Linked DNA regions of Homo sapiens: regions 1, 2, 3, 4, 5 and 7 are each linked to region 6. The links are contacts of gene promoters, found by promoter capture Hi-C in blood cells and fetal thymus (Javierre and others, 2016). All regions are on one chromosome and are shown on one strand. The core of a region is centred on a gene start or on the middle of the fragment in contact, and the rest is flanking DNA. Distances in the headings are between cores, read along the strand shown.

What was found. Contacts are between HindIII fragments. The CHiCAGO score rates a contact against its expected background, and 5 or more counts as called.
Region 1: a fragment that was not itself captured here is called in contact with the fragment with the promoter of CARTPT in region 6 in 2 of 17 cell types (M1 macrophages and M2 macrophages); the score reaches 6.1 in M1 macrophages.
Region 2: a fragment that was not itself captured here is called in contact with the fragment with the promoter of CARTPT in region 6 in 2 of 17 cell types (M1 macrophages and M2 macrophages); the score reaches 5.9 in M1 macrophages.
Region 3: a contact is called between a fragment that was not itself captured here and the fragment with the promoter of CARTPT in region 6, in 3 of 17 cell types (M2 macrophages, M0 macrophages and megakaryocytes). The highest score is 7.3, in M2 macrophages.
Region 4: a fragment that was not itself captured here is called in contact with the fragment with the promoter of CARTPT in region 6 in 3 of 17 cell types (M0 macrophages, endothelial precursors and M1 macrophages); the score reaches 7.3 in M0 macrophages.
Region 5: a contact is called between a fragment that was not itself captured here and the fragment with the promoter of CARTPT in region 6, in 1 of 17 cell types (M1 macrophages). The highest score is 5.1, in M1 macrophages.
Region 7: a contact is called between a fragment that was not itself captured here and the fragment with the promoter of CARTPT in region 6, in 2 of 17 cell types (M2 macrophages and M1 macrophages). The highest score is 6.5, in M2 macrophages.

The regions. Positions count from the first base shown.
Region 1 is chr5:72,098,812-72,102,138 of GRCh38, forward strand. LOC105379028 (a long non-coding RNA gene) reads right to left here. Exons shown (of 3, transcript XR_007058813.1): 3 at 1-3,327. Among named protein-coding and RNA genes, the nearest start is that of MAP1B, 7.0 kb to the right of the region's middle. The HindIII fragment of the contact is 2,049 bases long and covers 313-2,361 here.
Region 2 is chr5:72,080,100-72,083,926 of GRCh38, forward strand. No RefSeq gene overlaps it. Among named protein-coding and RNA genes, the nearest start is that of MAP1B, 25 kb to the right of the region's middle. The HindIII fragment of the contact is 4,416 bases long and covers 1-3,827 here.
Region 3 is chr5:72,125,088-72,128,832 of GRCh38, forward strand. The region is part of intron 2 of MAP1B (microtubule associated protein 1B); the gene reads left to right. Among named protein-coding and RNA genes, the nearest start is that of MAP1B, 19 kb to the left of the region's middle. The HindIII fragment of the contact is 1,722 bases long and covers 849-2,570 here.
Region 4 is chr5:72,060,599-72,064,155 of GRCh38, forward strand. No RefSeq gene overlaps it. Among named protein-coding and RNA genes, the nearest start is that of MAP1B, 45 kb to the right of the region's middle. The HindIII fragment of the contact is 1,655 bases long and covers 811-2,465 here.
Region 5 is chr5:72,037,397-72,041,013 of GRCh38, forward strand. No RefSeq gene overlaps it. Among named protein-coding and RNA genes, the nearest start is that of MAP1B, 68 kb to the right of the region's middle. The HindIII fragment of the contact is 3,462 bases long and covers 213-3,617 here.
Region 6 is chr5:71,717,230-71,720,863 of GRCh38, forward strand. It overlaps CARTPT (CART prepropeptide), which reads left to right and starts at 2,046. Exons shown (of 3, transcript NM_004291.4): 1 at 2,046-2,223; 2 at 2,651-2,734; 3 at 3,279-3,634. The coding sequence starts at 2,065. The coding sequence ends at 3,386. RefSeq lists an enhancer at 2,184-3,070. The HindIII fragment of the contact is 2,457 bases long and covers 1,199-3,634 here.
Region 7 is chr5:72,204,049-72,207,517 of GRCh38, forward strand. It overlaps MAP1B (microtubule associated protein 1B), which reads left to right. Exons shown (of 7, transcript NM_005909.5): 7 at 1,036-3,469. The coding sequence ends at 1,191. Among named protein-coding and RNA genes, the nearest start is that of MIR4803, 36 kb to the left of the region's middle. The HindIII fragment of the contact is 6,181 bases long and covers 1-3,469 here.

The DNA of each region.
Region 1 (3,327 bases), core at 87-2,586, 380 kb after region 6:
TGCCTGTTGAAAAATATTGTTCTTCCAGGACAATTTCAAATACTTCTTCCTCTATGAACCTTTATTGATCTCCTGAGTTAAGCACTCTCTCAGTTGAACAAATCTAAAATTATTAGGAGAATAGTTTTAAGGTTTGGAATGAGAGATCCTTTCTAAGACAGACAACCCCCATTAACTCATAAAGAAAGAAGCTTAGCCTAACCTTATAAGAAATTTAATAATTTGTATGGTCACAGACATAATAAATAGACATAAATACAAAATCTGATGACACACTGAGAGGAAATATCTGCAACATATATTGATGACGAAAGCTTATTATCCAGATTATATAAAGAGCTTCTAAAAGCCAGTAAAGATAAAAACAATAGTCCAATCAGAAAAAAGACACATCTTGAAGAGTTAAGCCAATAAAGAAAGAAAAGCAGTTTAAAAGGTGCTCAGTTTTAAACAGTAAATATTTCTCTCCCTTTGGTGAGTAAAAAATAAGAAGACTTACATTATGATGTGGGGAAAGAGGCAATGATGTGGAAGGAATATAAATTGTTAAATTCTTTTCAGAGGGTAATTTGGCAGGAGTCATCAAATGTTAAAATTAGGTATCACCTTCAACCCATCTGTTTGGCTTCTAGATCTAGGCATCTGTGCTCAGAGAAACATATATGAGTATAGAAGCACTTACAAGCATGGTCATTGCACACTATTTATAATAGAAAAAAACCAAACACCACCTAAAGGACCACCAAGAGGGGAAAGAGTAAAGGAAATATGGTAGATTCATTCTATGAGCTACTGTGCAGCAGTTTTTAAAAATAGATTTTTACATATTTGAAAAGAGCTTCAAAGGGAAAATGCCATTTGAAGAACAGTATATAAAATATTGTTCTATTTATATGGGGAAGATACATGTATACAGTCAGCCCTCCATATCCACCAGTTCTGCATCTGTGGATTCAACAAACCATGGATTGTAATTATTCAGAAAAAAATATATAAAAAAAGAATGGTTGAATCTGTTCTGACCATGTGCAGACTTTTTTCTTGTCATTATTTCCTAAACAATACAGTATAACAACTATTTACATAGCATTTACACTGTTTTAGATATTATAAGTAATCAAGATTATTTAAAGTATACAGGAGGATGTGCGTAGGTTATAAGCATCATTTTATATAAGGAACTTAGGCGTCCCTGAATTTTGGTATTCACAGGGGACAGAGTCCTAGAACCAATCCCCTACATATATGTGTACATTCTACACACACACACACATGCACACAAAATAGTTTAGCCTCTAGGAAGGGGAAGAGAACTAGGGGTAGCAAAGAAAGAACTTTCATTTTCTTCTTTATACATTTATAGGATGTTTTTTGTTTTTCTTGTTGTTGAAGGATAGTGATGTGAAGGACCCAGTTCACACAGTTAGGAAAAGGGACTTGATTTCAGTCAATTGGCCTTCCAGTGTGATATTTTTTTTCCACTGTTCCACCAAAAGAAAATAAGAGGCACTTTCGGAGTCAAGGATGATTGAATAGAAAGAAGTATAAGATATTTTCCTCTGGCTATGAAGTTCACTATGGAATTTTCAGAAACATGCCTCTTCTAACTAACCTAATAGCCACTGTTAAGAGTTAGGCCCATTTAGTTTATGGGCATAGAGAATGGCTGCAGCCATCAATGACATAGCGTATAGATTATCCTTTTAAAATGTTCTCTAATACTTCATACCTTGTAAGTCTTTTCCCTAATTTTCCTTTTGTTTCTTTCCCCAGGCTCTCTGGAATTTTTCTATAGCTAGCTTAAAGTTTGGAAAGAAAGGACTGATAAATGCTGAGTAAACAGACTATTTCTTGACCCTTAAATGACATACTGTCTTAAGTTACACTCTAGAGAATGACTTTAATTCTAACTAACAACACAACACTGGAGGTTCATTCAATGTGAGATTTACTCTGACTGTTTTATTCTTCCCACCAATCAACACTTGGGCTGTGCTTCATTTCCTTTATTTGCTTTAAATTCAATAGCATCAGTGAAGGTACCATATAGGGGAGGTCATAGACTTTGAAATATGACATAGCAGAGTTCTTTTCACAAGTTTTCAACTTACTATCTTTGTGATTTGGAGGAATTGTCTAACTTTTCTCCATGTCAGTTTTTCATCTGTCAAACAGCAATAATAATAACTAATGGCAAAAAAGAAATCACAATGACATTAGAAAATGTTATGAAATGAATGATAATGACAATAAAGACACAACACATCAAAATGTGTACAGGGCAGCTAAAGCAGGAGTTAGAAATATTTAGCCTTAAATGTATTTATCAGAAAAGAAGGAAAACTGACAATTAATTACTTAAGCTTCTCAAGCAGCTACAATAGGAAGTAAGATAAAACCCAAAGAAATTAGGAGCAAAACAGCATGGATAAAAACAGCTTCAATGAAAATATATATACACATACATAAAATAGAAAACTATCAATAATGTCAAATGTAGGTTTTTGTAAAGATTAACAAAATTGATAAACCCCTAGCTGGACTGATCAAGAAAAAAACAAAGAAAATACAAATTATCGAGATCAGAAATGAGAAAGAGACATCAATACAGACTTTAAGCCATCAAAAATATAAATAATACCAGTGGGAATTCACTGAAGTACTTTAAGCACCTAGCACACTACCATGGCTCATAGAAGCCATTCATTTAGTCATTGAATATGCTTTGACTGAGCATATGCCCTATGCTGAGCAAGAGGAATGCTAAGGTATATGGGTGGCTGGGTGGGTGTGAAAAGGGTGTGTGGGGGTGGGGATAGACATGTTCTTTGCTCCTGTGGAGCATAGAGTTCAACTAGTCTTTTCTTTATAAATTACCCAGTCTGTGGTAATCTGTTACAGCAACAGAAAATGGACAAAAGTAGTGCTCTCATCAGGAGGAAAAGCAAGGGAAAGCCTGTGTTGGAGGGAAGGATGGTTTGGCACAAAGTCATTGTGGCTGATGCTGGAAAGTAAGGGCAAGTGGAGGGGCCAGATGAAGCTGCTGAGATAAATGGGGACCAGCTTGTAGGTGACACTGAGAAGTCTGGTCTTTATTCTAAAATGGGGAGCCATTTGTGTTTTAAGTGGAGATGGGGCAACAAAACCAGATCAGAAAAGATCATTCTCCATATTGTGTGAAGCATGGATTGGGTGAGTCATTGTGGATATACAGATGCCAGTAAGGTGACTATTGAGGTTGCATGGGAAAAAAAAATAGCTAGACCTACTGTTTACAATATAAATTAAACTGGAAATAGCTCAAATGTTCACCAACAATGGACTGGT
Region 2 (3,827 bases), core at 695-3,194, 360 kb after region 6:
ATCTACTCGCCACTTTTCCCACGAATGGTAGCACATTACGTTTAGCACCTTGCTTTTTTTCTTTTTTTTGAGATGGAGTCTCACTCTGTCACCCAGGTTGGAGTACAGTAGTGTAATCTTGGCTCACTGCAACCTCCGCCTCCCAGGTTCAACTGATTCCTGTGCCTCAGCCTCCTGAGTAGCTGGGATTACAGTATTTTTAGTAGAGACTGGGTGTCACCACGTTGGCCAGGCTGGTCTCACACTCCTGACCTCAGGTCCTCCTGCCTCGGCTTCCCAAAGTGCTGGGATTACAGGCGTGAGCCACTGTGCCTGGCCGCACCTTGCTTTTTTTCATTTTACAGTATATTTTACAGGTCTTTTGATATCTGTCCATAAAGAACCTTCTCTTCTCTATGGCCACGTAGTATTCTGCCATGCGAATGTACTATTAGTTCTCTATACTGTCCCCTATGGTTGGGCAATTATTTTCTATGGTTTAGCTATTCAAATCTGGACTAGTCACTGAGAACAGTTGGGAATCTGTCTACTTGGAGATATTTAAAAATGAAAGTTATCACATGGACACATAGAGGGGAACAACACATACTGGGGCCTATCAGAGGGTAGAAGGTGGGAGGAGGGAGATGATCAGGAAAAATAACTAATGGGTACGAGGCTTAATACCTGGGTGATGAAGTAATCTGTACAACAAACCCCCATGACACACGTTTACCTATATAGCAAACCTGCACATGTAAGCCTGAACTTAAAATAGAAGTTAAAAAAAAAGAAAGTTTAAATTGTACCTATAGGAGAGTGTCCCTGACAGTCCCTTTTCAACAAAGATGGTGTCAGCTGACGACTGCTGAAAACATGGACCCAGAATCCTCCACAGCAGGCCCTAAGGCACTAGGTGGCTGCTAAGAAGGATTCATTCACCTTTACAGCATTTTAAAAAATGAATGTGAAAACTTTAATATAGTATTTGATAATAACTTAGAAACATATCCACGTGTGCTCAAATGAGGGTTATCCTAACGTTTGCATTTAAAGCACTATAGTTAACACATTAAACCCCAGAACACATTTGACATCTGTTCCATGCTGCCATTGCGCTTAACCTGGGAACCTTCCCTTCACCTTATGGTGTGCATTTCTAATGCAGTAGAGAAGGATTCATTGCCTTCTAATTCAGAGCTTTAAAGAGTCAAACTGAAGCTATATTGATTAGCCTTCAACAACATTTGAGCTACATTTAATTATAGTCTTCAAATCAATTTCCCCATTTTGGAGCTACATTATTTATATCACTGACATAATAACATCTATTTTTGATAGATCTCAGAACCTTGCCCCATCAGCCATATTGCTAGAACAAAGGTTCTTGGAACATGTGCTGTAGGGGGAAGTGGAGGCAGGTGGAACAGCACATCCTTCTGAAATCCAGTTTGGAGAGCTGGACTTGAAATAAATGGCTCAAGAAGAACAGCTGGTTCAAGTTCTCAGTTAGATCACAGAGCACAGTGCTTTTTCTGGGGCTCACTCTTAGAAGCCTGTGAAGTAACCGAATTGTGCACAGGCCACTAGGAGATGCCAGCCGAGAGGTCACTTTGCCTGTGTGCTGTGATTTCCTTTATGGATGAGAACTGAGGCCAGGTGCCTCAGCTTCCTCTCATTGAAGTCCCAGTGCCAGGCATGTTTTTATAAGACATGGGTAAAACAAGCAAAGAGCTTCTTTTTCCCATATGCCTTGGTTCTGTCTCTAAGGCCCATTAGTCCCACCAGCCACCTCACCCACATGGTTATGCTTTCACCCAAGTGCCTTTGGCCATGCTGGCTCATGGCTCTAACCATCACCTGGTGAGGAGGATGAACCCTAAATCTCAGGTTATAAGGAGGGCAGCTGGCCTTCAGGTCTTTGTCCACAAAACCCAGGGCTAGATATACATGGACAATACCCTCTACAGAGGCTGCATCCCCTGAGTTCTAATCTTCATTAGAGAGTCTTAGAATTAGAATCTTAGAATTACCTTCACCAACAAGATCTGGAGACAAGTCATGTCAAGCACTGCTCTTTCTCACCCTCCCACACCTCCACTCTCAGAGCCTGGTCCTCTGAGATGCCTAACTTCCTTTAGAGTATTCCACCTGTCCCACCACACCCTGGGCACTAGAGGGCTAGCAACCAGGCATGATGAGGAGACAGTTAACAGGAACATTTCCCTGAGTTCATTACTCTTGTTCTGCTGTGGTCACTGTGACCCTCGAAGAAGACCACAGGAGAAAAGACTACACTGTGAGTGGGTGGCTGTGGTCTTGGTGGGTGTGACTATGAGTGAAGAAAAGAGGTAGAGCCAAGGGTTAAGGAGCTGACTTGGGGACTACAACATATCCCTACAGAAATTTCATCAATTTAGTCATTCACTCATTAATTTCACAAATATATATCACGTCTTTACTATGTGCCAAGAACTGTTTTATATGCTGTGGATATAGTCGGGGATGAACAAAATAGGTAATAACATTGCCTTTAGGTCACAATATGGTGAAATCATTTCCTGGTCATTTTTAGTTGTTTTAATTTTTCTAAAAATAGACACAGAAACATACATACCAAAATGCAGAGTAGCCATCTTTTTACTTTCTAATAGAAGTATATTGCAAGAAGGTGTATGCCTCAAAAACGTTAGCATGGGCTAAAAACCCCATGCTTGTAATTTCAGTTCAGTACCCCATTACAATAAGACTAGCCTCCCATAGAAAATGAGAGAAGATACAGCACTGCTCCAAAAAATGGAGGATCTTCTGGAAAATTGTTAATACATGCCAACACTTAGAACAGTAACAGACTCATGGCAAGCACTCTAGACGTGTCAGCTATCGGCATCATCATTGCCTTCATCATTATATTAGGCAAAAAGAGAAGCATATGCAAAGGTCTGAAGGTGAGAGAGAACATGGCATGTTCAAGGAGCTTAAAGGAACTTGTGATTGGTGAAAGATGGTGAGATATTGATATTGAGACCGGGAGGGGACAGACCATGGGGAACCTTGTAAGTCATGTCAAAGAATTTGGACTTTGGCCCCAGGGAGCTACTGATATGTTCTCACTGTCCTCTCCATACTCTGTAAGTTAGGGTCTCATATCCATTCCTCTTGACTTCTCAAATGGAATATTATTTGGCCTCTCTGCTTCTCCTTTTCCTCTTCTTCCATAGCCTGGTTGTAGCTGTCATAGCTTCCTATCATTCGTAAGATAGGGCTCCCATTAGCTCTCTTACTCTAAAACCTTTAGTGGCTACCCATTGTCCACAGAATCCAGCCAGTTGTCTGAATCTGTCATGTAAGCAGTGCTATGCTTTACTCTCCCTGGCATGCCCCCTACATCTAGTCACATAGAGCTACTTGTTTCCAAATGCCTCCATGCTTTCAACACCCTCCCTAAATGCCCCATCTCAATCCTGAAATCTGGCTGATCACTGAGCCCAAGGAAATGGTCATCCAGGATATTATTATAGAATCAAAACAAATCCAGTCTTTATAGCAGTAGGTTGGAGATAAAGTGGGTGAAAAGAGGGACTACACGGCAGGAAGCAAATCAAATTATCCTCCCTCCCTCCCTCCCTTCCTTCCTTTCTTCGTCTCTTCTGACAAACATCTCTGTCGGGTGGTTAAAAATACTTGGCCCAATGCCTTGCAGCTCACCTAGATGCTCTGGTATTGCCATGTTTCCCTGCTTAATTACTGTTATCAACTTTCTAGATTTTTGTAAACTCAACACAGTGAATAATGAGGTAAATAAAACTGATGAACTCCTTTGCTATGTACACAGACTATTTCTATAA
Region 3 (3,745 bases), core at 460-2,959, 410 kb after region 6:
GTGAAAACTGCCTAAGAGAATTCTTCCTCTTTTTAATGGAGCTCGATGCCTGTTTAGGGATGATGTAGCAACCGCTTTTTTATCTAGAATTCCAGATAGTTTCCCAGCTCAAATACTAGGAGTTTTTGGTGGTGCAATTCAATTGAAAGTGGTATTTGGTGTGAAGTTCCAGCAGCCCCACAAGATGCTCAAGTGCCTTGTAGTTAGTTTAGTATAATGTGCATATGTGTTTGTGTGTGTGTGTTTGCATACATGAGAGAAAGAGAGAGAGAGAAAACCTTATCTGTTCTCATCTATTATAAAGGAGACAATCCTTTCATTTTATATGGTATCTCCTTTTGAAGGTGTCCTGTTAGTGTCCTATTATCAGCCAATCTGTCATTAAATATTTATGTTCCTGCAGCAAGGCACAGTTCAGTTCCTAGCTCTGCAGGCCATAAGAAGACTTGTAAGTAAATCCTGTCTTCAGTTGTTTACAATTGAGTATGGAAATAAGATAACTAATGAAACAAGCCAGTCTATAATAAGTGCCAAATGAGAATTTTGCAAGGAGGTCCTTCTGTAAATTCTATTTGTTCAGGCTATTTTAAAAAAATCTGTGTGCATAAAAAAAGCATTAAAATAATATTATCCATGCAAATTGGGGCATAAATGCAACAGATCCTAATGCACTGAATCATCTTTGTGACCAGGGAATTTTGAATCCAGCCTGAATTAAAATATTTCCTAGTTTGGAGCTACATTTTAGATTAAGCCCATTAATTCAATGATGAAGAGTTAGAATCGATAATTTAAGAATTCACCCTTCTGAAATCATGTGAGAACAAAACTCCTGACCTGGATGTATAAGCTTAATTTCAAGATTGTCTTTATCTTTGAGTGCTGGAAAATTGTCCATTGGCAGACTCTGAAGACACTAGGGAAGAGATTGTGAAAGTGAAATGTTTTAAGGAAATAAATGTGAAGTAATTGTTTCACTGCCCTGAGGCTAGAATGGGTACTTTGGAGAGTGTCTGATTCAGCTGTCCCTGTGTTGAGGGAAGCAGGGAGGGGACACCAATTGCAAGCTGCTTTCCAGGACCCTTCCCCCTCCGGAGAGACCAGGAAGCCTGACCTAGTGCAGCAGCTCTGGGCCACACCTGAGAGCATTGTTGCCCATGGTGCTCCCTGAAGAGCTGCTGTCAGTCCTTTCCTTTTCTGTAAAATAAAGGGATTAGGCTAGATCAGGTCATCTTAACTTTGTTCTGCCAGCCATTAGTTCTGCAAAACATTAATAGTCAGTGGAAAAGAATTTCATGGTGACTTAAGTTTGAAAACTGTGACATACTCCATCTAATTTTTTGAGGAGGCATAAATTGTATGTGTATAAACTTGTTCAATTTTGTCTAACCATACATTTCCTTAGCCTATTTGACTAGTCACTTCTATCACCACTCTCTCCCATGGATCTAGATTCCTGTAAAACACAATCTGGGAAAGGATGGATTAAATGATTGCTGAGTCCCTTCCAGTTTTTTTATTCCATTATTCTATGAATTTTTACTAAATTGTCTCATCACTCGTATGTAGATGGGAGCTTGTCTTACTTCATTCAGCTTACAATGGCTTTTAATCCAGGCTTTAAAATATCAATGAAAGAATTTCATTTAGAAAAAACTGCCTGTCCCATCCATGAGTATTCTTAATTTTAGGAAAGATGCACAGCTTTATGACACTCAGGCTGATTTCCCAGTTTGGGAATTCTTGGCCCTGGCTTTTCCCACCTGTCTTTACCTTGCAGACAAACCAAACAAGACAAAATTTAATCATGTTTGCACAATGTCAAACACTTGCATAGAGACTATCCCCAAAGTCAGCTCATGGGTGTTTTATCTTCACAGTGCCAAATAGGAAATAGCTACATATGTTTCCCATTAAAATGAGAATTTCCATGTTGGTATCTGGTGTTGCATTGAGCTTCAGGTTAGCTGCTTATTCACTGATCTTTGGAAGGAGGCTGAAGATTGAACCTCAAGAGTTCTAGGGATTATCTGCAGGTTGAAGGTGTTAAAAGTCCCAGGCACATTGTTTGTTATCGCTAACTGCGGATGGCCTGAATTTTAATAAGCATGGTCAACTGTGCATATCTTGTCATGTGAACTACCAATTAGCACACCATAATTTAGCAAGTTAGTACATGCAGATATGAACACCCTTGGGAAGGAAGCAATTTTCGAATCAGATTATTACTGACAGTGTACAATTTACATGCAGGTAATCATTATCAGAAAGTCATGATTATCCAGAAGGAAAAGTGATTTTTGTGGTAATATATCTTTGAATGGCTGTTGATTTTTAATACCTTTAAGGTAAAAACTTCAATTTGTTCCATCCCTAATTTGATCATATTTGCAAAAAAGTGTTAATTCACTCATTAAAACCTAGGCGTCTGATGGGTACAGCAAACCACCATGGCACGTGTATACCTATGTAACAAACCTCCACATTTTGCACATGTATCCCAGAACTTAAAGTATAATTTTAAAAAAGTTAAAAAAAAACCTAGGTGTGATATTATGTGTTTACAACAAAGCTTACCAAGTATTCTAAAATAACAGAAAGAAATAATTTATGTACAATAACAACATTAATGATAATATATCCATGGATAATACGTTTTGGTTAATCAAATATTCTAGCTAATTGAGAGTTGCCAATAATCCCTCGTGGGATTATTATTTTTCAAAGTTGTAGAATCCAATAATACAGTCATTTCTTTTACACAAACACCTAAAATTTATCTAGAATTAACTTAGAATTTCCTAAACCAAATTTATACATTAGCCCAAGATATACTTAAATTATTTATAGAAGACATGAACTTACAAATCTGTTGTTTCTTCTCCCACCCAAATAGAATAATATCTTCAAAGACAGTCTTTTTTTAAAAAAGGACATATTGTTCCCCTTAGGTAGATACTGGCATTTTATTGAAATATAGTTCAAGAGACATGCATTCAGGCAAGATGAGTGCACACCGTGCTACCTACTTGGAACCCAAACTCAGAACAGTAGAATTGAATCTTCCTTGGAAGACTCAGGAGGAAGATCATCTCTCTGTGCCTCAGGGTCCTCATGATGAACCTATTGGTAATTATACTGTAAACATGAGGGTGTGCGGATTAGTAGCGATTTCTTATCACTGAATCATTAGTGAGCAAACTATTTATTTTGAGGTGGTGTCCTCAATACTAATATGATTGTGCTTCAATATAGAACAAGGAATATCCCTGGATGTTATAGTCCTTCTGAAAAAGAGTCATTGATTGCAGATATTGTTTTAAAAAAAAAAAAAAACACTCAAAACTGCTACAGAGAAAAAAGAAAGTGTGAAAAAAGAGACCATGGCTATCTTCTAGGTTATTCGAAGAAAATACCTGAGTTTGCAAGTATGCACTAGCTCACTGCATTTGCACTGTCCTGATGTGCATACAGTGGGGTGCACCCGCCTCTAAGTCCCAACCATTTTTTTCTTTCTACTTCCTGTATCCCCTTGCCTATGAAAACATAATTTTTATTTTATTTTATTTTTTGAGAAAGGGTCTCACTCTGCGCCCAGGCTGGAGTGCAGTGGCACCGTCATGGTTCACTGCAGCCTTGAATTTCTGGGCTCCAGTAATCTTCCCACCTCAGCTTCCTAAGTAGCTAGGGCTGTAGGCACATGCCAAGGCAAACAACTAATTTTATATTTTCATTTTTAAATTTT
Region 4 (3,557 bases), core at 388-2,887, 340 kb after region 6:
TTGTTTTTTCTAAGCTATGCACAAACTTAAGGGCTTGCATGCACCATACATACACACTAATCTTCCTCTTTTCTTTCTTTCACAATAGTTCCTATAATCTCAAATCGGTACCTATTCAAAATTGGCCAAAAAGCCTGATAAATCTCAGGATATTGCAATCTGTGGGTGAGTCTCCAAGATGTCCACAGCATCCAAATGAAAATCAGAGTTGTGATAGAAGAATGGCTGTATAGACTCTAATCAAAAGATTGATTTTTGTGTAGTTGTTCTTTTTTAAAAAAACAAATTCTGAAAAATTCTGAGTTGTCTTTGAGAAGCAAAGGACAATGTTGAAGGGTATAAAGGAGTTAGTCAAGAATAATAAAAATAATCTCTTGGTAAAATGACTGAAGTTTGTAATATATTTACATCATAAAGACCACAATGTAAAAAATAAAATCAAAATAAGTGTCTAAAACCAACTGCAACAGCTCATTTCTCTTTTTAAAAATGAAACTGAGCATCTTATTTGAAGCTATTTTTATTTGCATTAGATTATTGCAAATAAACATTCTAAATGATAGAAAAGAGTTGTAATCATATAATTTGCTTTCAGTGTTTTTGTATTAACTCATTAGTCAAACCCTTCAGTGAAACATAGTTTACAAAAACATATCCATTTTTTTGTAAGCATATTATGAATAACATAGAGATGCTTTACTAATTTGATAATTAAGACCCAATATTTAGCTGGAGAGGACCAATTAAGTAAGAATAATTTAACTCTCTCTCTCTGTCTCTCTTTCTCTTTCTCTCTTGCTTGGCTGACTAAGCTTGGGGGAGCATAAAAGAATAAAGTAATCGTACTGCATTAGAACTAGTAGAAGACATTAGAGATTAACTTGGGGGCCATGACTACTGAGGAATTCAGTGAGTTGGCTTCATGGGCAGTCTGCGTAATCCTTAAGTTAGATGCAAAATGTTATAGGAATGTGCATAAGTGTATTTTTGGGGGTAGTGAGAATGTATAATCCTAGAAGATCAAGAAACCAATGTGCTGAAGAGTGACGGGTGAGGACAGTTGTCCTGGGACTTTGGAGGTGCTGTCAGATGGTCCTGGAAATACAGAACCAGTCCACTGCACAGCCAGAGATGACATGGGCTCAGTGATTCCAAAGCCCTTATAGTCAAGAATGTGAAATGCAGACGACCAGAGAAAAGAGCAATAGACAGTTCCTGATACACTCAGCTTACCCCGCTATACAATCTATAAGCATCCACATGTCCTCATTGGCTATGGAGATAAGTTATTCCAAAATACCATGGTCCTATCAGCCTGGAGGGTCTGGACTACTGGGAGTGTGTATATATATATATATGGCAAGGAAGAATGAGAGGTCGTGGTGCCATGGACAGAAGAAGAAAAATTAGCAAATGTTGGCTTGATAGGGTAAGCAAGGGTTTGGCTTTTAACACGTGGTATTCAAGGAGCAGACAGAACACCAAGGTTTAGTTGTTCCAAAAGCAACTGGAAAGACAGAAGTAAAGCTAGATGCTCCTACTATAGGAAAATTCTTTCCCCATCAGTGTTTCCTCCCTTTGGGATTCTCTCGATTCAACCCCATGACCACCACTGCACTCACCCCCAGGAGTGCATGCTCCTTTCCTCTACGACCTGCAGCAGTGTGCTAATCTGGTTTATTTGGGTTCATCAGAACAAAATGTTAGCCTTTCCCAATTCTGCCTTCAGTGACCTCACGTTGGTAGCCTGCAATTGGCTATGGTGGTGCAATTTCTATTTGCATCACAGAAATCAGCAAATGCTACAAATTAGTATCCCTCCTCCAAATGGGCTGTTAAATATTTACCAGCTTTTACCAATCACTGCTTATGAGTGAACAGAGATATAGAGTGTGTGGGGCCTTACACAGAATGGCCAAGGAAGATCTCACTGTTAGGGCAGCGTTTGGGAAGACTAAAAAGAGGTGATAAAATGAACCATGCAGGTATCTTGGGGAAGAGCATTCTTGTTACAGGAAACAGCAAATGTAAGGTACCCAGTGCAGGAGTGTCCTTGGTGTTCAAGGGACGGCAAAGAAGGCTAGTGTGGCTGGGGCAGAGTGAGTGAAGGAAAGAATGGTAGGGGATGAGGTTAGAGATAGATGAAGAAACGAGGGGCAAATCATGAAAGACCTTTTAGATGATAATAAGGAGTTTGGTTTTTACTCTGAGAGAAACGGGGAGACACTGGAGAGTATAGAGCAGTAAAGTGACATGAGTATGACATAGACCTTGAAAGGATTACTCCTTTTAATCCTTCATGTCAACTTTATGGAGGCTAGGACCAGAAGACTAGTGGTGGAGGGGATAAGAAGTGGTCATATTCTAGATCTGAATACAATAGAATTGTTATTAGTAAGCAGCTTTCAGCTCAATAAAAGAAATGAGTTTCTAATAGAGTTTTTGTCATCTCCAATGAAGTACCAAGCTTCTTGTACCTGGAAGTAACCAGGCAGACACTTGATATCCCTCACTAGAGATAGTATAGGAGAGTTTCCTATGTTGGGAGGAGTTTATACCCACTGACCTCTAATATTCTTCAATGGCCTGGGGCTTGGCTACACAAGAAAATGCTTGTTATAACTTGATGACTGATGATCGAGTTAGGACTAAGGGAGCAAATAGGGTTAGATATAGAAATTGAAATGGCTTCATTTCTGTAATAAATATGTTAATGGTTATTTTAGAGATATATTTATGACTTGGGCATAGGCATATCTAAGGGTTTGGGGGCAAAGTGGATGGGGGAGTAGTTTCGCGTTCGTGTCGCTCTCCGTGGTGCTGAAACACCAATGGTTAAGGGATAATGTTCTCCTAACTCCCTGACTCTTCCTACTTGGAGGTGAGGCCACCTGATATGTGCAGTCACATGAGGTAGAGGTGGGTTGAGTTGGGGAGGCTTGGGAACAAATAAAGTAAGGATGTCTTAGAATTCAGGATATTACAGCTGGAAAGGGTTTCAGGGAGTATCTAGTCCAATTGCTTAATTTTGCAACTGAGAAAACAGAGCAAGTCCACTTGTCCTAAGCAGCAGAGGTCCAGGACCTAGTATATCTCATCCTGGGATGAGATAAAAGTGAGAGGAGGCTAGTCCTGTGGGATTATTCTTAACATTTCCACCAGAAGTTTCTACTACTTGAGTTCTCCCTCATCGTGTGACCCTATTCACCACACCAGTGAATAAGCTTCCTCAGAAACATGTCCTGGTTTGTGCATGAATTTCCCTGATTTATACCTGGAAGCCTCCAATCTGGACTAGACATCCTTAGTTGTAATGGACTCTCTGGTTGATGTCACCCCAACTTCCCAGGCTTCTATCAATGACCTCTACTTTTTATTAATGTTACCATGCGTCTACTTGGTTTGTCATACTTTCTGAAGTACTAGAACTTGACGGAGCTGGGTATGCACTAACATGTTATACTTGTCCTTGTGTGGCTGCTTATTGAGGCTGTAGGTCTGCCGTTTGGTAGAATACAATTAACAAGATCGTAGAATAGGGGAAAGAACACATGGGT
Region 5 (3,617 bases), core at 694-3,193, 320 kb after region 6:
AAGGCTGAAGTCAGATTTGGGAATCATAGAATCAGTAATTTGAGAGGGAATAGGATGGTGATTTTTTTTTACTGAGTCTTACATTATGTATAGACTGAGAGGAAGGCCAAATACACACAAACACACACACACACACACACACAGGCACGCACACATATGTGTGTAGTAATTTAGGACACGTTAGACTAAGCCTGAAAGAAATAAGGCTGCTAAGCTTCAGACTCTTGACTGGAAAAAGGGAACTGCTAGCCAGAACCCAGCTGCTCTTTCCCTAGGGCAATTCTCTAACTTCAGGGAGTATGACAATCACCTGGGGAACTTCACAGACATGTGAATCCCCAGTCCCCTCCTCAGAGGTTCTGACTTAATGGGTCTAAAACCTTTTTCACTAGTTATAGTATTATTGCTTTCTCTATAAAATAGACATTTGCCATTGACTGAAGAGTGTATGTGCAAGGCCTCTCTAAGCAGCAAAGTAAGTGGGGGAAGGAATTTAGACATGCACAGCTCCAGCATGCATACATTTTCAACAGAGATGCTCAGATACTACCCAGCCCTTCTGGTTGACATTCACATGAAGCCACTGGGTCAATATAAACTGATATTTCAAGTTGGAGGTCATAATGTTGCACCTGAGGAATGCTACTGAGGGTCTTAAAAGTGTGTTTTTGCTGATGATGGAGGAAAATCAATCTCTGGCCGCCTGGAACAGTGGCCTCTTACAAGCCATGTCCAGCCATTGGTTGTTGAGGCTTAAATGGGCCAACCTCAGAGTCTCTGCCCATGAGCAAATGGCTCATTTCTTTCAAAGGAAGCAGCATACGAGGCTCTGAAGATCACATATTTTGGAAGTTTATGGCTCTTTATCATTCTTGGGTAGGAGTTTCATGTCTGCCTCTCCAGTCTTGAAAGAATAAGCCCAGGGGAACCCTTAATTCAAATGTGACCATAGGTCTCTCAAATATCTTCTAGACCAGTGTTGTCCAATTGAAATATAAAATATAATGTGAGTTATGTGTGTAATTTTAGATTTCCTATTAGCCATATCAAAAAGTAAAAAGAAAGATATAAAACATACTTTAATAATATATTTTATCTAATCTAATATATACAAAATATCATGTCAACATGTAATCAATATTTTTAAAATTAACAATAAAACATTTTACATTCCTTTTGGGGGTACAAATGTGGTGTGTATTTTATACTTAAAAAACATCTCAGTTCAGACTAGCCACGTTCAAGTACTCCATACAGCCACATGTGGTGGTAGCTACTGTACTGGACAGCACAGATCCAGACCGGGAGAGAGAGAGGGCTGAGACAGCGCCTATTCTGCACCCAGTGATGGGGAGACATGGAAGAAGAGAAGCTGATGAGTGTTGATGCATGCCCCACACCCATCCCATAAGAAAATCCCATGTTGGCTCTCCCTTCAGAATACATCCAGAATCCTGCCACTTCTCACCATGTCCACTGCTGCCACCGTGCTCCAAGCCATTATTGTCTCTCACCTGCATCACTTCTTACTGATCTTCCTCTTTCTACCCTTCCCCCTGCAGTCTATCCTTAAGGCAGCAGCCAAATCAATCCTATTGAAGTGTAAGTCAGATCATGTACCTTCTCTCTTCAAAACCCTAAAATGGATGTCCATTTCACTCAGAGTAAAGCCAAAGTTCTTACAACAGACTCTCAGGCCCTACCTGGCCTGCCTCCCCCTCCCAGAGTCACCTCTTCTTCTACTTACTCTCCCTTTTGTTTACTCTGCTTCAGCCCCACGGGCCTCTTTGCCATTCATCAAATATTCCAGAGCCTGCCAGTCTTAGGAGGAAGCTGCCTGTTCCTTCTGTGGGGATGCTCTTCCCCCATACAAGATATCTTCAAGGCTAATGCCTTACCTCCTTTGAGTTTTTGATCAAATAACACTTTCTCTCTTTGTTTTTGTTGTTGTTGTTGTTTGTTTGTTTTTGAGATGGAGTTTCACTCTTGTTGCCCAGGCTGGAGTGGAATGGCGCAATCTCGACTCACCTCAACCTCCACCTCCCGGGTTCAAGTGATTCTCCTGCCTCAGCCGCCCAAGTGGCTGGGACTACAGGCATGCACCACCACACCCGGCTAATTTTGTATTTTTAGTAGAGACGGGGTTTCTCCATGTTGGTCAGACTGGTCTTGAACTCCTGACCTCAGGTGATCCACCTGCCCTCCTCGGCCTCCCAACGTGCTGGGATTACAGGCATGAGCCACCACACCCAACCAATAATACTTTCTCTTTGAGATTTACCCTACATGGTAGTGCAAACTGCTCTCATTCCATCCAGCTCCTCCACTCTATACTATACTACTGTGTAATACACTTGTGCTGTGTTTATTATTTATTACCTGCTCCCCCATAAATGTTTCATAAAAGCAGGAATCTTTATCTGTTTTGTTACTTGCTGTATCTGCAAACCCTAGATTAGTGCCTGGCATATGGTAGGTGCTCAATAAATATTTGTTGAACAAATGACTGAATGAATGAGGTTGGAGGCATCTTGCATTTGCCTCCCAGTAGCTCAGCCCCCCAGCAGTGACGAGGACTCTGTACCACCCTTCTCAGTCATCTTCCTCATCTTCCCACCACATTGCAAAGCCTTGGGAAGAAATAGGATTAGAGTTAGGTACTCATCCTAACTAAATGAACTTTTCCCTTGGAACAATAATTCTTTCCTGTTTCTTTTTGTGTTTGTTTTTTAATCACAGGCTCCTTGTGAGGTTGGTGGCAGCTGTGAATGTTCTTCCCCAACAATTTCACATACAATTTCTGGAGGTTCATAGACCTCTGATGCACACCAGAAGAGTCCAGGGACCTCAAATTAATAATGTGTGCCCCAGAGGTTCACCCAAGTGTAGTTTTCCTATCCGTCTTTGAAATCAAATCTTTCTGCTGCTGCAAAAATAGAAACCATATCCAGAAAGAAATTACAGAGCCAACAGCAAACTTGAATGGTAATATAGTTTATCTTTTCACCTGCAGATAGCTCTGAGCTGTCTGCTCTTCCTAGGAAAACTCCACTTCATGGGGAGGTAGACCAGTAGATCACATCCAAAAGTTCTTTCTCATTCCTTATCTAAATTGCTCCTGCTTTAAGATGAATCTGCTTTCTTTAGCCAGATCTCCTGGGAAAACAAAAAACCAAGTACTTATCTTTAAAAAGTATTAGGATGTCCCTGTTCCCTTCCCCAAGTCCCTTCAGGCAAAATAAACAGAGTGATTGGCCTATTCTAAACAAGCTCACTGAAAATGCCTTTTCTCAGCAGGGTTCAAGCTCTGGCCTGAGCCAGCCCAGGAATGAGTCTGAAGAGACCCAGAGAAGCAAGCACTGAAGGACAAAGGGAGGCCCTGGGGTCCCCTCACAGATCCCTAGAAGAGAGGATACTCATCTCCTTTGCCTGGAAATGTGGCATATGATGACTAAGAAAGACACAAAGCAGGGGTTCTTTAACATCCTTCCCTAAAAGTGGCTGTCAGAGGCATGATGCTGTCCCACAGACTCTGCCTGTCACTAAAGCCCATTCTTAGTGTGGGGACAGTTAATCAGATGGTAATCTTCAAACACCCCTTTGGTCAGTGGAATGGG
Region 6 (3,634 bases), core at 796-3,295:
ATTTTTCTTCTGAAGCTTAGAATAGTTTAAAGATCACTGGAGATGGTTTTTGCAGTGAGTGTCAATATGTCTCTGTAAGGTTTTAACAGTAAAACGTGCTGCCACTGAAGTTTTCTTGTGCAGAATCAAAAGGTATGTGTGGAAGGCAGAGCTGAGGGAGGTGTTAGATACATTTTCAAGTTGGGTTTACCCCACAGCAAAATATTTTGATGCTGTTAATATGTGTGCTATTCATTAGAAGAGATATCACTTCTTGAATTGCTTCCCAGTGAGTATTTGAGTACCAATTAAATACTTGATAGTTGAAGTAACCAGGCATATATTGTGTATTAAACTATCTTAATGACCCACATAATCTGCTATGCAATAAATTTGTGGGAGAAAAGTATTGATAGATGGTTTGGATTGAGTAGTCATAGATATTTACACTGAGATTTAAATAACAGAAGTAGTGAGCCTTTTGGAAATACAGGAAGACCTTTCAAGGAGGGGTAAGTGCAAAGACATCAAAGTATGAATGAGATTGGCCTGCTAGAGGACCAGAAAGAAGGCCATGTGAGGTTGGAGTGGAGGAGTCTGGGGCAGAGTGGTAGAACATGAGGTGGAGAGGGGTGAAGATCATATAATGCTTTGCAAGTCAGGATGAGGAATCTAGATTCAGTGCTTAGTAAGATTAGGAGTCATTAGTGTATTTTAAGGGGAAAAATACTCTGGTTGGTGGTGAACTATGGAGTAGAGGAAGGCAAGAGAAGATAGGGTGGGGATTAAGTGGTAGACATTAAGTTGACTGGGGCAGCTGTCTAGGACTGGGTTGTAGTAATGGGGATGGAGAAGAGTGGATGAATTTAGGAACAGTTGAGGGAAAGATGGTGTGGTGAAGGAAGCCAGGTGAGCAAGCAGGTCTAAGCGGGAAAGCATTGCTTTTCCTACAGGAATTTTCCTGTGCATTCAGGCTGTAAGGATCTCAACTTTTAAAAAAGCCACATTGTTCTCCCAAGTTGTTGGGGAGCTGGTTCACCATTGACTTCTGATCTCTGGAGATATTTTCATAATCATGGAGCTGTCTTTCTTTTCACTCTTTTACTCTCTTTCTAGACAGGCTTCTTGGATACCAAGGGTTGGTGGTGGGTGGGGGGAGGTTCTGGGGATGGTTAAATTTGCCTGGGCAGCCTCAAAGTTCAAAAAGGAGGGACAGGGAAGCTTAGCTAAGAACCAGGAGTTTGACATACTTAATCTCTCATTTCATCCTACTGATGACTTTGTGAGGTATATCTTTTTAATCCTAGATCTACAAAAGAGAAAGCTGAGGCTTGGAGAGGTTCTTCATTTTGTTCAAAGTCATACAACTTTTACGTGGTGTAGCCAGGATGGGAACCAGAGCCTGGCTCTCTGCACTTCCAACACCACTGCTGAATCCGGGTTTGTCTGTTTTCCCTCTCTTCTTTTAACTATTGTCACACAGATTCCATCATAGAACCCATCACGTGGAGGGCCACTATTTCTCTTTCTTTTGTATAGTATGTTTGCTTCCCCTACCCCACAGAGTAAGGTGCTCAGCAAATGTGGCTGTCTGGAGGCAACACCCCCTTCTCACCGCCACACTTGGGGTTGGGGTGCGAGGCAAGGCAGGGCTGGCGAGGTGGATGTTGCAGCTGTCACCACTGCTAGGTGTTGGGAAACGACTCTCCTGCCTGTGCATTGACCCGAAGGCATTTTCCATTTCCTAGGCCCCTCCCGCTTCCCGTCCCTCACCTCTAGCCCCTCGGCTTCAGCTCAGGCCCCTCGGGGAGCATCCCTTGCCGTGAGACTGACAGCCTTTGGGGGCGCAGGGTCCTGTTCTCTGCGCTCTAGCCCATCTGTGCGCAGAGCCTCGTTCCCAGGCGCCTGGAACCCGGCGGGCATTGACGTCAAGCGCCGGCGGAGCGCTGCCTACAGACGGTTGACCCGGGCCCTCCTCCACACCCCCTTCCTTCTTCGCCTCCTCCCTCTTTCCTGCACGGGGGCTCGGGCTCACTATAAAAGGTGGGAGCGCGTGGTGCCCCAGCAACGACGAGTTTCAGAACGATGGAGAGCTCCCGCGTGAGGCTGCTGCCCCTCCTGGGCGCCGCCCTGCTGCTGATGCTACCTCTGTTGGGTACCCGTGCCCAGGAGGACGCCGAGCTCCAGCCCCGAGCCCTGGACATCTACTCTGCCGTGGATGATGCCTCCCACGAGAAGGAGCTGGTCGGTATTCCCCTCGCTCTCGACCCCCTTGAGCTGTCGCCTTGTCTCTTCTCTTGCACGCCTCCCTCCTCCCCCCACCCCCACTCCTATTCCCAGAGTCAGGGCGCGGGGAGCTGAGCGCAACGCCCAGGCACCCACTGCCATCCGAAGAGCGTCTCGAGCTCACGGGCTCCTGGCAGTCTGTTGAGCGAATCCCTCATCCCGGCCCCTCTGAGCAACAGGGACCCCAGCGGCTCAGAGACCCGCGGTCAGTACCTGGGACAGCGTCCGCTAAGTTTCCACCCCTCGACCATTCCCTGTGTCCGCGGAGTCCCACCGCAGAGTGCGTGTGGGTCCGGGGCTCCTTATAACTAGGGCTGGAAGTGCGCACCTGGGCTGGGCTCGCAGCCAAGGCGGCAACTTCAGGCTCCGAAGCGGTGTGTTGCAGATCGAAGCGCTGCAAGAAGTCTTGAAGAAGCTCAAGAGTAAACGTGTTCCCATCTATGAGAAGAAGTATGGCCAAGTCCCCATGGTAAGGTTTGTGGTCACTCCCTTCCCGTGTTTTTCCAAGAGAAAGTACACCGCCTTGAATCGTACACACAGTCTTCTCCGTAGGATGTGGCTAAATAACTTAGGTAATGGGCTTGCAGGATTCTGTGGGCTCCTTCTTCCTTCCCGGGTGAGGAAATGGGAAAGCAGGAACAGGGGTTGTAAGAAAGTGTAAGTCTATTGTTTGTTGCTCAGGAAAAAGGTCTGATTTTTTTCCCCTCTGAGAGGGCAAGAAAAGGAGCCAGGAAATGTGATGCTCCCCTTCCCACGCCCCCCAACCCTCGCCACTTAAAGGTGGAAGAAACTAGGATAAAACTAATAATGTAAGTTTCTTTAAAAAATGTACTCTCACTGAGGTTATAAGCACAAGGCTCCCTGTTTCAGATCTGACTGTACGTAGACCTCTTGTGATGGTGATGGGGTCCAATTGCCCCTTTCAAGAGACAGAAATTGCGTTGACTGTGAGACTTGCCTGTTGGGAACCTGGGTTTGTTCATACTCGATGACCACACATTTTGTTGTTTCAGTGTGACGCCGGTGAGCAGTGTGCAGTGAGGAAAGGGGCAAGGATCGGGAAGCTGTGTGACTGTCCCCGAGGAACCTCCTGCAATTCCTTCCTCCTGAAGTGCTTATGAAGGGGCGTCCATTCTCCTCCATACATCCCCATCCCTCTACTTTCCCCAGAGGACCACACCTTCCTCCCTGGAGTTTGGCTTAAGCAACAGATAAAGTTTTTATTTTCCTCTGAAGGGAAAGGGCTCTTTTCCTGCTGTTTCAAAAATAAAAGAACACATTAGATGTTACTGTGTGAAGAATAATGCCTTGTATGGTGTTGATACGTGTGTGAAGTATTCTTATTTTATTTGTCTGACAAACTCTTGTG
Region 7 (3,469 bases), core at 566-3,065, 490 kb after region 6:
AAACCATTTATCTGCAAAATGGGCCTAAGATTAATTGCCCTTCCTCCAGTATGCCAAGAGTCTTGTGTGTGTGAATCAAAGCGGTCATATTTCCATATGAGAGCTCCTGAGGAATTGCCTTTCTTCCTTTGTGTTTTATGAGTAGACTGCGGCTAGGAATATGGCCATTTAGAAAAACAGCTCTCCATGTGAAATTCCACAGCAGGAGCATTGCTGAATATAGTCCCTCACAGGACACTCCCAACTCCCAAACATCATGCCTGACCACAAACCATCCCTTATTTATTTAATGACAGGGTCTCCCTATGTTGCCCAGGCTGGTCTCGAACTCCTGGCCTTAAATGATTCTTAGAACCAGCTATTATTAATTCAGCTGTGATCTTTGCTTATCAAGTTTTATTTGTGGTTCTGTACAAAATTACCTAGTAAATTGTGCTTGTATCATATTATATAGAATTACTTGTTATTTAATCATATGAAATCTAATGAGAGGCACCCAGTGGCTCCCTACTGAATGCTAGATGGAATTTATACTATTCAGGACATTACTTACCCACCCCATACCTCCATCCCCAACCACACACATAAAGTAAAGGTGCAGATCTTTGTTCTCAGGACAAAATGTTAGTTACTCACAATGAGTGGGCTTTTGAGGGCTTTGAAGTGCGCGATAAAATCCTTGGATTAAATATGCAATATCTTTTATGCAAAACTTACCAGTTGTGTTAAAGGAAATACAAAAAATTGTACCCTAACGGAAGCACTTCTCTTAACAGTAAAGAACTGAGAAACTGATTAATTGCTTTTTGGTTCCAGCCTTCAGTTTCCCTTAGAAACAATAGCTTTTCTTTGCAGCTTTATTCTGGTTCCTGGAAAATATACATTGAAAAATCCTTTGCATTTCTTGAGGAAAATAGAAAAGTTTTCTCTCATTTCCCTTCTTCTTCCAGTGGTCTAATACCTTGCTATTCAATTTTTTTCATATGGTTTCTGTTTCTGCCCTTAAATAGCTATTTTTTTTTTCTCTCCCTGCAGGTGACACTGATCCCAACTCATGACTCAGAAGTGATGAGGGAATGGTACCAGGAGACCCATGAGAAACAGCAAGATCTCAACATCATGGTTTTAGCAAGCAGCAGCACAGTGGTTATGCAAGATGAATCCTTCCCTGCATGCAAGATTGAACTGTAAAAACCAAGGCCAGCCACACCACAGGATCTGAACTTTGTTTCCAGAAATTCTTCAATTTGAAATCACCTTTTCTAAAAAGTCAATTCATCTAGTTAAGTCGCTGAACAATTACCTGCCAAATGCTATACTGTGTCATGGTGATGCAAGTCACTAAATTTCTCAGTTTTTGCTGATTGCTAAGGGAAATAACAGTATTTCCACAATAGGGTTCAAATTCCTGCAAAATTACCTACCCCAGTTCATCTCTGCTGAACATTTGGAAACCATGCACTAGCCAACCCAACTGACTTCTGCTAGGTAGAGGCATTTGTCTTAGAGAGAGAGAGAGCGCGGGAGAGAGTGAGAGAGAGTGAGAGCACAAAGATAACGCAGGAGAGAGAGAGAGAAAGAATGAGAAAGAAAAGGAATGCAAGAGAAGGAGATGTAATGACAGAGAGTTCTGGTGAGATACCCAGAGAGAAAAAGAGAGAGCAGGGTGGGGTAAGGAGGAGAAAATAAACCAACAATTAGGTCTGCATTTTCTCAGGCAGTAGGCATTCTTTAGTCTACATAGGCAAAGTTTTCCATTTTTGTCAGTCTGAGTCATCAAAAAGAGTCTTAATTTTCTAAAACAAGTTGGCTAGAAGAAAGTAAAAAGAACAACACTTGTTATGAGGGCATGTGATATTTTCACATCTTAATTAAGCTCCTTCAGTTTGAAGGCTGCACACTGACATAATGTAGTGAGTGTAGACTGGCCATGCAAGTGGTTTGGGCCCCATTCAGAACTCTCAGACTCTAAACACACAAGTAGATTGATCTAAGGCATGCTCCCAGCATTTGTCCACCCACTTAGTCCACTCTGAGTCGATTAACCTGCATGCAGCAACACCCAAGTCCACCCCAATTAACTGAAGCAAATACCAAAGCAGTTGGGAGTACATATGGTAGACAATTTGCCTTAGGAAGTGACTTGAATGTACAAAGATACTTGATGCACTTATTTTTTAATGTGAGACAGCAAGTTTATAAAACATCCATATAGGATTATAGATACTTAAAGGAACACGTGGGTGAGCGTGTGTGGGGGTACTAGAAGCTGATCTGATTGGTCCAACAGTTTGATGCTGAGTCATGCGTGTTGAATCCCACTTCAGTGCACCTGTGGCCTCTCAGTCAAACAAGTTGTGCCTTTCACAGCTTCTTTACTACTGCAAGTTCAAGACTGAAATGGCTTCTATGATCAGAACTGGGAAAACAGTGAATCTTATGGTGGAAGAGGTTCTCAGCAAGTGTACAGTATTTACCTTCCTTTGTCTTACATTGGCTTTTTAAATTTTCCATTAATTTCAACATAATTATGGGAACAAGTGTACAGAAGAATTTTTTTTTTAAGATATGTGAGAACTTTTCATAGATGAACTTTTTAACAAATGTTTTCATTTACAGGAAATTGCAAAGAAAATTCTCAAGTGATAGTCTTTTTTTTTAAGTGTTTCGTAAGACAAAAATTGAATAATGTTTTTTGAAGTTCTGGCAAGATTGAAGTCTGATATTGCAGTAATGATATTTATTAAAAACCCATAACTACCAGGAATAATGATACCTCCCACCCCTTGATTCCCATAACATAAAAGTGCTACTTGAGAGTGGGGGAGAATGGCATGGTAGGCTACTTTTCAGGGCCTTGACAAGTACATCACCCAGTGGTATCCTACATACTTCTTTCAAGATCTTCAACCATGAGGTAAAAGAGCCAAGTTCAAAGAACCCTAGCACAAATTTGCTTTGGGATTTTCTTTTCTGGAAAAAAAAAATAAAAGAAATAGTACATTGAAAACAAATGAATTCTCAACTCCTACGGTTCATGTAGAGTTTAGAGAAAATTTCCATCATTGTCATCATTGAACTGTGAACCTGGGAAGCCAGATCATGATTAACACTGACATCAAGTTTCAAGTTGCAGATCAATGCACCCAGTGTTCAGATGAGGCAAACTTCTCCGTGACAACTGTGCTGTGCTCTGTCACATTACATTTCCTGCAGACTCTAAGATCTACGGAGTAGAGAACAATGACCTCATTTTATTTTCTATGTTAGTTATTTATTTCAAAATTAACATTTTAGTTGATTTTTGTCTGATAAGTCTATGTTTTGCACTGCTAACTATGATGAGGGTTTAAAAAAATGCTTCTTCAGGGTCCTTTCACTGAGGACCTATGCAGTCTACTTAATGCTGTGAATTACATTTTTCAAATGTTTAATTTTTTAAAGAAAATTAATATTCTATTTTTGTTAG